2 separate regions of the Homo sapiens genome follow, and region 1 is linked to region 2. Evidence: promoter capture Hi-C in 16 types of primary human blood cells and fetal thymus (Javierre and others, 2016). All regions are on one chromosome and are shown on one strand. Each heading gives the region's core, a stretch centred on a gene start or on the middle of the fragment in contact. The rest is flanking DNA. Distances are from core to core; before and after follow the strand shown. Region 1 has its middle 130 kb from the start of LMNTD1. Region 2 holds the start of RASSF8 (Ras association domain family member 8).

What was found. The method cuts DNA at HindIII sites, captures the fragments that hold promoters and counts their contacts. A CHiCAGO score of 5 or more calls a contact.
Region 1: a contact is called between a fragment that was not itself captured here and the fragment with the promoter of RASSF8 in region 2, in 1 of 17 cell types (endothelial precursors). The highest score is 5.6, in endothelial precursors.

What each region holds. Positions count from the first base shown.
Region 1 is chr12:25,681,168-25,686,885 of GRCh38, forward strand. No RefSeq gene overlaps it. Among named protein-coding and RNA genes, the nearest start is that of LMNTD1, 130 kb to the left of the region's middle. The HindIII fragment of the contact is 2,792 bases long and covers 393-3,184 here.
Region 2 is chr12:25,956,989-25,963,527 of GRCh38, forward strand. RASSF8 (Ras association domain family member 8) reads left to right here and starts at 1,694. Exons shown (of 6, transcript NM_001394098.1): 1 at 1,694-2,160. RASSF8-AS1 (RASSF8 antisense RNA 1) reads right to left here and starts at 2,454. Exons shown (of 4, transcript NR_038228.1): 1 at 2,338-2,454. RefSeq lists silencers at 1,306-1,795, 1,896-1,995, 2,066-2,115, 2,256-2,305. The HindIII fragment of the contact is 3,942 bases long and covers 1-3,319 here.

The DNA.
Region 1 (5,718 bases), core at 539-3,038, 280 kb before region 2:
TTCTTCAAAAACATGGAGATGATAAAGGACCAACAGAGGCAGAGATAGGATGTGGGGCGGTGTCATATAATCAGACATCATGGACTTCAAAAGGAAGAGATATTGAGTTAAAGAGGAGGAAATGGTCAAAGGTAAGAAAAAGATGCTGGCATTGATTCTTAAACTTGATACAAGAAGCAGGGAGGAAAAATGAAATGGCCTTTGTTTAAAAGTATGGTGATTCAAGTAAAGTTGTCAGAGAAAAGCCATTTTTAGTTAGTTGTATCCATAGTTTTTCATTCATTTAATTAGAAATATCTTAAGTTGAATATTTCAATATATGGCTGTGAAATGACTGAGGCATTGAAGATGATATGTATTTGTTAATACGAAAGGGCCACAAATTTCTGAAAAGCTTAAATTAGTTTCATACAAAAATGACAGAAAGGATTCTCAGGTCTTTTGTTTTATGATAATAGTGTAACATTTAGGGTAGTTATTGAAGAACAAAAAAGTCACTTGAAAGTTGGTTGAAATGCAGCAACGACTCAAAGTGAAATCACCAGACAATATGAGCAATAGACGTTTTCACATGTCCCTATTTAGTGGGTGACACAGCCCTTGTTCAACAGAGCCTTAGGGATAAATTACTGCTGCCTCAAGACCACATCATACAAAGTAAGTGTTCATAATCCTTTCTTCTAGTGGGCAGAGCTCTGGCAGAACTCGCTAAAGAACTGCATCTAAAATGACTTCGCTTAGCAAAGAGCTGTACTTCCAGGCATCTTGGAAAAGGAGCCTCTTTCTGAGTTTTTGATGTGAGATGTCAAAGCGTTGTTGGTATGAGGAAATCTACTTGAACTGCTGTTATTTGACAGGTAAACATCATTTTCCAACCAGTCCCTGAATCATAGCTACCTACCTGGTAAACAAGGATATCCAGGTGCTGCCTAGAGCCTCAAAGTACACCTGTCATTTATCTACATCCAAGATTGACATCCTAGCCTGAACCCAAAGTGGTTCAGACATTCTGAACATGTGTGAGAAAGCGACAGCCTAAAACATCTTTTAAAGAGTCAGAATGATCAGCTTGATCAAGAAACACATTTGCAGTTAGAAGAGAGGAATGATTATGCATGCAGTTTGGTAGCTATCCTCAGAAGTCCCTCTGTCCTCATAAGCTCATATCTTGATAAGAAGAAGAGAAAATGAGGTGGGGGAAGGTTTCACTTTGGTCTTTCTCTAAGACACTATGACCCAGAGAGTGCTTTAGCACTGCAAGAACACTGGTGCTTTAGTGTGAGGAGGATCAGGGGCCACACTTGGCAGGAGGGAATTTGCAGGACCTCTTATGAGACCCTCACTGTGGACTATAAAAAATTGCTTGTTGTGGAAGGTAATTTTGTAGGGACAGCAAAGTCTGAAACAATTCACAAAGTTCTGGCCTGGTCAGCCAATTGGTGGTGATGTCATTTCCTGAAATAGGGAATAAAAGAGAAATAGATGATGACCAGTCTGGTCTTGGCATGTTGAATTTCCAGTGCCAATGACACTTCTCAGGGAAGGTATCAAGAAGGCAGTTGAGAGCTTTAGAGAGAGTCTGAGGTAAAACTATAAATTTGGAGTAATCAGTTTAGCGATGTTAGCTGAAGCAATGGCTGTTGAGTAGATGGTCCAGAGAAAACAGATGAAGAGAGTAAAAAAGATAGTAACACCCCAGGATTATCTACCTTAAAAGGGTAGCAAAAAGTGTGACCTCAGTGCAGGACTTTGGAGTAACAGGGGAAGCCTGGGGGTGAAAGGAGACCTGGAAGTAGATGCCCAAAGAATGTACACTTAGAACTTAATCTACAGAGTCGATTCTGGAAAATTCTATTATTTCTTTGTTTCTAGATCTTCCCTTTAAGAAAACTGACTGCAGAGTATTAAATCTACAACTGGATTTCCAAATAAAGGAAACAATTGTAAGGATTCAGTTTTAAGGATATAAATCAGCAAGTAGTTCAGCCAAGGAATAATAAACAGTCACTAGCTGAAGCAAAGCAATGTAGCTCCCAGAAATTTTTATTTCTTTTTAAAAATTGATTGTCCAGTGAGACACCAATAACATACAGTCACATTAATTGGTGCTTATAAGATGATTAATCTCTGTAATTCCCCTCCAGTCATTTGAAACGTTCTATAAGATGCCCTTGTACAAAACATAGTATTTTAACAGGAATTTTACAAGGCCTTTTATTCCACAAGGTTTTCGTGTGTGGTGGTGTGGTTCACAACATCATATTTCAACACCAGCCTACTTCAAATCAGATGTGTTTTTATGTGGGTTCAAAAAATATGCAGGACTGTGAACCCCAACACCGAAATTTTACAAAGCACAGCTTCCTTCCTCCCCACCCCAAACGTTTCATTAACTGGAAAATAAATAGACTGCTGACCTCATTGTAAAAGACATTCTACTTGATGAGAAAGGATGACAGCCTTGTCAAGTCCCTTCGTTTCCTCTCCCTTTAGGGATAAAACACCTATTGGCATTTGCCTCCATCATGTCAGGTGACATGGAGCTCTGTGCCCAAGTCCCACAGTCTCCAAGCCCTTGTCCCAGGAGGAATCCTACCCACCCCCAGCACCTGTTCTCCAGCAGAACTGAGATTGGGGAGCAGAAGACGGTGACATGTGTCAATGCAATATTTTACATTTACTCCATATACATAACCCACTGAGTGAGTGGGTGGAAACCTCCTGTGACTCCAGGATTGGCCTCTCTGCACTTCCATTCTCAGAACTCCCAAACCCTCAGGAACTGAAGGAGGAGATGCTGCACTTGGCAATTAGTGAACCCCATTTTGCCTTTTCTTGTCTTCCCCTCTTCCTCTGTCTGGTTCTGATGATCTTCCCACATAGATGTTCAGTACTACCTTTCCCAGATAGAGAGTATTTAAAGGACTTGGGACCCTTGATCTCGTCACACTCAGGAAAAATGTAATGCTAAATGTCCTTGGAGATGGTCCATGGCTTGTTGTTATGTTGGTAAACATCTCGCTGCCTGCCCTCCATCAGGGTGCAAGGCCCCAGCATGCTGGTCCACACTCTGCCTCTCACTCCCCTGTGATGTCTCCATCCTGACAATGGGCCTCTTGTACTTGCCTTGCCTTTGAGAACCAGCCCTCCTTTGCTCTTGCTGACTCTGCTGCCTGAGAACTAAAGCTTTGCTCTGCATTTCAATTCAGGGCCAAGGTCCCTTCTATTAGATTGGTGCAAAAGTAATTGTTGTTTCAGACTGTGAATTTTAAAACATTATAACTAGGCTCAAACACATCTTTATTAATCAGAATAGGAACCATTACAATCAACACATTTTTGCCAATAAGAAATAAGTTTCTTTTTTCCTGTAGCATAAAAATCCCTGCTTTGGGATTCGACGATCTCTTGGAAAGCATTTTTCTGCATCCTGCTGGTTTTGGAAGTGTTTTCCCTGCAAAAAGTTGTCGAGATGCTTGAAGAATTGGTAGTTGGTTGGCGAGTGGTCAGGTGAATATGACAGATGAGGCAAAACTTGGTAGCCCAATTAGTTCAACTTTTGAAGCGCTGGTTGTGCAATGTGCAGTCGAGCGTTGTCTTGGAGAGGAATTGGGTCCTTTCTGTTGACCAATGCCAGCTGCAGGCGTTGCAGTTTTCAGTGCGTCTCATCAATTTGCTGAGCATATTTCCCAGATATAATGGTTTTGCCAAGATTCAGAAAACTGTAGTGGATCAGATGGGCAGCAGACAACCAAACAGGGACCATGACCTTTTTTTTTTTTTTGGCTTTGGGAAGCACTTTGGAGCTTCTTCTCACTGCAGCCACCAAGCTGGTCATCGCTGGTTGTCATATAAAATCCACTTTTCGTCGCATGTCACAATCCGATCAAGAAATGGTTCATTGTTGTTGTGTAGAATAAGAGAAGATGACACTTCAAAATGATGATTTTTTTTTAGGTCAGCTCATGAGGCACCCACTTATCAAGCTTTTTCATCATTCCAATTTGCTTCAAATGCCAAAAGACCATAGAATGGTTGAAGTTGAGTTCTTCAGCAAATTCTCTTGTAGCTGTAAGAGGATCAGCTTTGATGATTGCTCTCAGTTGGTCGTTGTCAACTTCCGATGACTGGTCACTACCCTGGTCTTCAAGGCTCTCCTTTGCAAAACTTCTTGAACCACCACTGCCCTGTATGTTCATTAGCAGTTCCTGGGCCAGATGCATTGTTGATGTTGAGAGTTGTCTCTGCTGCTTTACGACCCATTTGAATTCCAATAAGGAAGTCGCTTGAATTTGCTTTTTCTCTAACATTATTTCCATAGTCTAAAATAAACATAAAATAAAAAGCAAGTAATAAGCCATTAGCAAAAAATCATAAAGGGAGGCATGCCCATTAAAATGATGTATAACCTAACCACATTTATTTAAGAATGTATTCTAATATAAAATGGCAAATTCCAACAACGCAAAAACCACAATTACTTTTGCATGCACCTTAATTCCTCTACACAAGCCAACTGGATGCAGGCTGTTAATCTCTCTAGACTTGCATCATGGACTTTGGTGGCTGCCCATTTGCTGGAGGCAGCTACAACCTTGAATCTTGGTGCTTTCTGCCTCCCTGGTGGATCCATCCTATCAGCCGTAGAATTGGCACAGGTATTCTTGGGCCAGGCCTATATTACTAAGGGGTGAATATCAGATTAACAACACTGCCCTCTGCTCTGACTTGCTAAGAATAAATATTTGTTGTGTCTCTGATAGATCCCAAACCATACCATTAACATCTAATGCACAAGAATGCTTCACTCTACATCAAAACTACACTATCGATAATCTGTGTAATGAACTTTCCTTTAATGTATTGAATGAACTTTAAAAACGTGTTAAGATCACATAGATGTGGTACCTGAGTGTTAGTGACAATCTTTGCAAATAATCAGTTTTTAGTAAATTATCTCTCAATTTTAGCACTGAAAGTCCTGCAAACTGAGATGGGTGGTCAGCCTAGGAAACGAGTCAATCTCTCTCATTGGTACTGATCTGTAAAGTAACGAAAGACTCAATTATTACTATGTATAAAATTATAACCTGATAATATTTTGTTAACTAGTCTCTTTTTGCCCATTTACACACCATAACTACACAGTATTTCCAGCTAAATGGGCTCTGAGCGGCCAGCCGGCCAGCACTGCGGGCCCCAGGCAGTGAGGGGCTTAGCACCTGGGCCAGCAGCTGCGGAAGGGGGCACCGGCTCCCTGAGCACTGCTGGCCTGCCTGCGCCATGCTCGAATTCTCGCCGGGCCTCAGCCGCCTCCCTGCGGGTCAGGGCTCGGGGATCTGCAGCCTGCCATGCCTGAGCCCCCCACTCCCCGCAGTGGGCTCCTGCAAGGCCCGAGCCTCCCTGATGGGCGCTGTCCCCTGCTCCGCTGGCCAGGTCCCATCGACTGCCCAAGGGCTAAGGAGTGCAGGTGCGTGGTGCAGGACTGGCGGGCAGCTCTGCCCGCAGCCCTGGCAGGCGACTTACTAGGCCAAGCCAGCTGGGCTCCTGAGTCAGGTGGGGACTTGGAGAACTTTTATGTCTAGCCAGAGGATTGTATATGCACCAATCAGCACTCTGTGTCTAGCTCAGGGTTTGTGGATGCACCAATCAGCACTCTGTATCTAGCTAATCTGGTGGGGACTCGGAGAAGTTTTATGTCTAGCTAAAGGTTTGTAA
Region 2 (6,539 bases), core at 444-2,943:
CCGGCTAATTTTGTATTTTTAGTAGAGACGGGGTTTCTCCATGTTGGTCAGGCTGGTCTCGAACTCCCAACCTCAGGCAATCTGCCAGCCTTGGCCTCCCAAAGTGCTGGGGTTATAGGCATGAGCCACCGCGCCCGGCCAAAAGGCAGAAAGTTCTAAGAAGGAGAGGTCAACATTGGCAAATGCCACAAAGGGCACAAGATGGGAATTAAATTTTTCCATTAGATTTGGCAATTAAGCAATGGCTGATGTTGTTCAGTGGAGTGAAAGGCTGAGAAGGGAATGAGAGGTTAGGAAACATTCACCTTAAGGCTAGGCAACTCCTTTGAAAAGAGTCAAGTAGGGTTAAGGGAGGATCCATGCCCTCCAGGTTGACTTTTAAATCATATTCCCTTTGGTTTTGCATTTGAATCACAGTGAACTTTCTCCTCTCCAAATGTTGATTTGACAAATTTGAGTCTTACCATGGCTCTCTTCTCAGTCCACCTGCAGGTCAAGGAACTAATGAGGTGTGGAGTAACTAAAGGTCAAAAAACAAGAGGAAGAAACAAAGGGCCAAAAAACCCCAAACCTTAAATCAGGTCCTGAGTCAGATACGCTGTAACAAATTCTGCTTCAAGTTTAATATTCTTGTTTTGATGATGTTTAAAAAAAGAAAAATAAAAGCAAGTGTCTGGAAAATTAAAAGGCGGGGTGGGGGGGGGCATTTTAATTGGAATGCTTTCTTGTATCTCATCCACTATCCGCACCCCATCGCCCTGCAAATTAATAGCTGTTGCGGAGTTGGGGTATGTGTGACCACAAAATCCAAAGGCTGAATTTTGCCCAGTGCCTGAGTAATTGCATGCCACACACAAAAAAACAGTAGAATATTGAAAACAACATACACATCTGTATTTCCATATGAAAGCACCCGTTTCCTTTCTTGATTATCTGCTATTTTTAAAGGGGTTGGGAGTGCAGCGGGGCGGGGGGATGAGGCGTTTTTTCTGAATACGAGCCCAGCTCTTTCTAAACTTTTGTTACTCACGTCCGTTTGATTCATTTGCTGTGTTTTTTCTTTCTTTCTTTTTTTTTTTCCCCTCTCCTGCCTCTGTCATTGCCTGCTGCTAAGAGGGACGCTGAATCACAGCCACTGCAGATGAAAAGCAATTCAAACCCAGTCCTTGGAGGGGGGATGGAACGGCTCTTTTTGATTTTTTTCCCCTCTGCAGAAAAAGCCTCCTACTTTCCGGGTGACCGTAGAGGGCAGTTTGACAAGTCTCAGCCCCGGGCGATGGAAGATTTTGCCCGTGGGACCGTCACGAGCCACCGGTCATCTCCCCGCGCCCGGCTTTCGGGTCCTCAGGCCTCGGTGCGTCGCGGGCCAGGCGACAGCGGGGGGGCGTCGCGGGCCGGGCGAGCGTGGCCCGGTGGGCCCGAGGGTCGCGCCGAGCTCCCCGCCGCTTTAAAAGCTCCCACAATGCAGCGCTGGCGTCCCAGTTCCGTTACGAGGTCTCTCCCGGCGCCGGCGAGCGGGCCAGGCGCGGGCGGGGCGCGGAGGAGCGGCGGCTGAAACCCGAGCGCCCGGCCGAGGGGGGCGCCCCCGCGCCGCTCCTCTCGCGCGCTCAGCCGCTGCCCGGCGAAGGGGCGGAGCCGCCTGGCCGCCCGGCCCGGCCCGGCCCGGCCCGGCCCCCAGCCCGGCCCCCAGCCCAGAGGCACCGGCCGCGGGAGCGAGCGGGTCGCCGACTCCTACGCCCGCGCTCCTCCTACGCCCGCGCTCGTCCGGCGCCCCGCGCCGCGCCCCGCTCAGCGTCTGCCGCCCAGCTCCTCGCCCAGCCTCGCCGAGCCTCGCCCTTCCCGCCCGCGGCGGCGTTGGCGCTGGGGGCGGCTCCCGCGGCGTCTCTGCCGCTGGCCGAGCGCTCGCGCACCGCGGCACCCCCGCCAGTGGCGTCCACACTCACCTAGCGCGGGCCGGGAGGTGCGCGGAGAGGGAACGCCGGGGGGCCGGGGCCTCCAGCCGGTGCGGGGCGCGCGGCGCGGGGAGCGCCGGGGAGTGCCGGGGAGTGCGGCGCGGGGACGGGCGCTGGGCGGCCGCGGAGCTCCGGGTGCCGCCGCGTCCCCAGCGCCCCGGCCGGCCCCTCTGGGCGGCCTGCGGGGGCGGCGCAGTTGCGAAACTGAGTAAGTATTAACTTTACTTAGCGGCGGCGATCCGGGCTGCGCCGGGGACCCCGCCCGTCCCGCCTGCAGCCTCGGAGCTGCCCTCCGCCCGGTTGCCCCTCTCTCCGCACCTTGGGTACCTCGTCCGTTCCGCCCCCACCCTGCCCCGCCGCGGGCTCCCGCTCCCTCTGCGTTCACCTTTCCTGGTGTGTCACCCTTTGCGCCTCTCCTCGCGGCACACAAGCCGCGGACTGAAAAGTACGAGCTTGGTCTTTGCTTTTCTGCTTCCTCCCAGTGTCCTTGGCAAGGGAGTTTAGAGGCCACTTTTCTTGCAAAGGGAATTTTATGTCTGGTTTTTAAAATATTTTTTCCTCCGGATGGAAATCGGATGCTCGCTTGCCGGGTGGCGGTTTGGTGAACGCTTTTCTCCTCTAAAAAAATATTGGTTTATAGGTTTTTAAATTTCATTTGAACTATTAACCATCTGCATTCTATTCTCCTTTGCCGCCAGTCCCTTTGGGGAGGGGAGTCCAGAAGAGGGGACGTTCAAAGTAATTCTGACTTGCAAACTAGAAAGTTTGAGAGGGTAAATCGCACAAAGCCGGAAGATTCAACTTGAAGGGACGCGAGCTTTGAATGTGGGTCCTGGTGCGGCACTGGGTTTTAAAAGATGAGTACTTGGGTTCGGAATCCAGTGTTGCGTTGTTATTTTAGCATCATAGAGCCGCCTGGTGTTGCTAAACCACTACTTTCCCAGCCTCAAATGGCATCTTGAACAGTGCAACGTAGGATATATAATTGCGGGTCAATATTGTTGCTGATCTTTAGGGATTTAGAAGCGAAATGAATGCAAATCACGTCTCATAGCTGACTTAAACCTGTCAGGTTAGCCCTGTCAGGTTAGCATTAAAGCATTTCATTAAAAAAAAAAATCCTCTAGCCCTGTGACAGCAGGGACGAACATTTATGGATTTTCCAGTAGATTGTGGCTCAGCAATTCATTAGATCTGCTTTGTCCCCAGGAAGCATTTTAAAATATGTATAAATCTCTGCTTTTCTCTCCATTAGATTAACCACTCATTCTGGTAGGGGGCCCCAGGTAGTTTTTATTTTCTTTTTTGCCTTTCATCTTGGAGTTGCCAGGAGTTGCCATCATGTTATGAAGGAACAGAAAATGAGAAGCTTTCTTAATGGGTTTTCGACATCCTGTCCTTTGCCAGAGTGAGGCGGTAGTGAATGCCAGCCAGCTTTCTGCAGGGAGAGGTGCAGGGTGGACGCAAAAATCAGGACGCAGGAGACAGCACTATCATTTGGGGAAGTGGTTTGTGTGAGTTTTATCTTTTAGCGGGCATACTAATGGTACTTTTAATTTTATTTATCTCTATGAGGCACACTCCCCAAACCATAAAATTACACATGACCATCCCCCACTTGAAGAAGACTGAACATAGTTTGATGATTATTCTATTCAAGGATCAAGTACAACAAAATATAATTTGTAATACAGATGATAAAACCTTTCAAAAATCTCCCCCTTCCTCATTTTTTTCCTCAAGAGTCTCCAGGTGGTACTTTCTGTGATGGACACAATTGGCAGTAATGCACTGAGTTCTTTCTAGGTTTATTGATCAAATCTTATGTCTGGGCTTTAGTAGCTTAGGGGTGCATTAGAGGGCCCTGAGAGGGAGCAAATCATGGGGCTGTGCAGGCAGGAAAGGCACTTCACTTTGCAGAAGTGTCAGTGTGCTTCTGGAAAAAACAGTTACAAAGAACAGAGAGTGTTTAAGTTGTTTATAGGATGCATGTTTCCTGAATTTGGCATTTGGTTCAGATATTTGGTAATTACAGATTTAAAATTCGACATGGTTGTATAATTTGTTTTGCCTTTTATTTATTTTTTTAAGGTTGCAACCTTTTAACCTGAATCTTCAGTGTTTGGCTCTTGTAGGCTTCTATACGTGGTGACTTACGTCAGTTTTTGACCTGACTGCCTTGTGTTTTGAGAAATGATTAGTTCTTCAGGGTTTCTGACTCATTAATTGATCTGTTTTATGTTGATGTATATAATGACTTGGAAGTAAAAATATTGTTTGCCGTGGGATATTGTTGTCTTTTTCTTATGGTTAATTCCTGGCATAATGGCTTTGCTCCTTTATTATAAAACATTAAGATCTTAGATATCTTGCTAGTGTTCAAAACATTACAAAACTCTTTGCAAGTAAAAGTGGAGTGGGAATGGGAGTTGGATAGAAAAACATGCATCATAAATTAAAGATTTGGATTACAAAATAATATAACGTTTATTTACTCTTCTTTGATGCTAACTTGCTCTAACCCTAAATAGACTTAAAAATTCAAAGTGTAGAGAGAGTTTCCAAGTATTCTGTATAGTGGAAAGAATGTTTACCCCACTGCCAGCCAGACTTGGGTTGCACGTGTGACTTTGTCACTCCCGAGGTGAGTGAGCTCGGCCATGCCACTTCAGCCTCTGTGATCTACAGTTGCATTTCTGGAAAATGGGGATACCACTACTTAAAGGGATGCTATGGTGAGTAGAACATCTAATATATATTAGATGTGCCTGGCACATTTCAGCCAATAAATGACAACATCTCAAACTCCTTCAGAATTGAGCTCTTGGTCACTCAAACTTTCAAACTGTTCCCCCTCCATTTTTCATCTCATCCATCCAAGGAGTAGCTCACTCCACTCTCTCTTTTCTTCTATCAGCCCTAGCAAACCAGTCCATCATAAAGTCCTGCTGTCCATTTTTATTGCAAAATCTCTTTCAAACCGGTCTGATTTTCAGTCCCCACTATTCTGCCATCCTAATGCAAGCCACTGTACTGTATTATCTTTTTCCTTGGTGCGGTGCCTCCTGCACACACTCTGCACCCCTTGCAGTCTGTTTTACTACCAGCAGCCTGAAAAAAAAAAGAAAAAGTATTTGCCGTCTTAAAGTTGTCAGGGCTCTCAGGAAACACATTTATTTATTTTTGGGATAAGATACCAAATCCTTGACATTACTTCAGGATCCTGCATGATTTGATCTCTACATCCACTTGCATCTCTTGCTGTCATCTTGGCCAGTTCTCCAGCAGACTAGCCTCAGGCCTGTGGCTCATGCTGTTGGTCTCCCTATTTTAGGATCATCTCCTTGAGTAACTTATCATCCTTGGGTGCTAGCTCAAATGTCCTTTCTCATAAAGGTCTTCTCTGACAAGCCCACCCTTATCGTCATGCGAATTAAATGTCCTTTATTTTCTCCCTCATAGCGTAATCACTTTTGCTTCTGAATATTTACCACAATTTATATATTATTTAATCACTTAGGGTCCTTTTCTTGCCCTTTAGGTTAATATGAAGTTGATAATACCTGGTTTAATCACCAGTGCCCAGTATATGTAGTAGGTGCTCAATAAATATGTTGATATAATGAGTAAGATCGTAATATCAGTTTGTATCTTTATCTTTTTTTTTTGAAATGGAGTCTTACTATGTTGCCCAGTTGGTCTTAAACTCCTGGCCTCAAGTGATCCTCCTGCCTCAGCCTCCTGAGTAGCTGGGACTACAGGTGTGTGCCACCATGCCTGGCTTCTGTATTTGTATCTTGATTGCCTTCTTTATCACTGTTAAATTTGCTTTTCATGATAGAAAAGCCAGACCCACACTTTTCTATATTCCTTCTTTGCTGGTTATATGTATAATATGAAACGGCCTTTGCAAATATCAGGTAAAAATGCATGTAGGTTCTGTGAAATATTCGTAGTAATAAATTGAGACACCTTTTAATTAGTGTTACCCTTGTGACTTTCTGTTGTACATAATCCTTTTTCTAAATACATCATTAAAATAATTATTTTTTTATCAGCATAAGCTTACTGAAAGGAAAAAAAATCTTACTGTGCCTTACTATTTTACAGAGCGTCACATGATAACACGTTAGTCAGCTGCTGTCGGCTGGTGGTGCCAGACATCAAAGGAAGATTGGGAAAACTTTAGTAGAAAAACAAGACCTAGAGTTCTAAGGATGCTCAGTGCTGTCCAGCTGTTGATGTGACTTGCATGGTAACCAGACATCACTGGACCATACACTTAAGAGAGAGGAGGAGTTTTTTTTAAAAAAAGTGGGAGCCACCTAGAAGTCTGGAAGTTCTTTTCTTCTCTCTCACTAAAGCATTCCTTGTTTTAGCCAAAAAAAAAAAAAAAAAAAAAAGTCTCATGACCTTCCAAGGCCAAGGAAGGCTTACAGCTTTGAGTATTTTTGTCATGTGGTTGCTCTTTACGAAATATTAGCTTGATGTCCTCTAACTCTGAAGTACTTATGTCTGTTATTGATGTTTGTAATCTCTACTTCTTACATAATTCTGCATTTTTCTCTTGACTTGTTTTTTAGGACT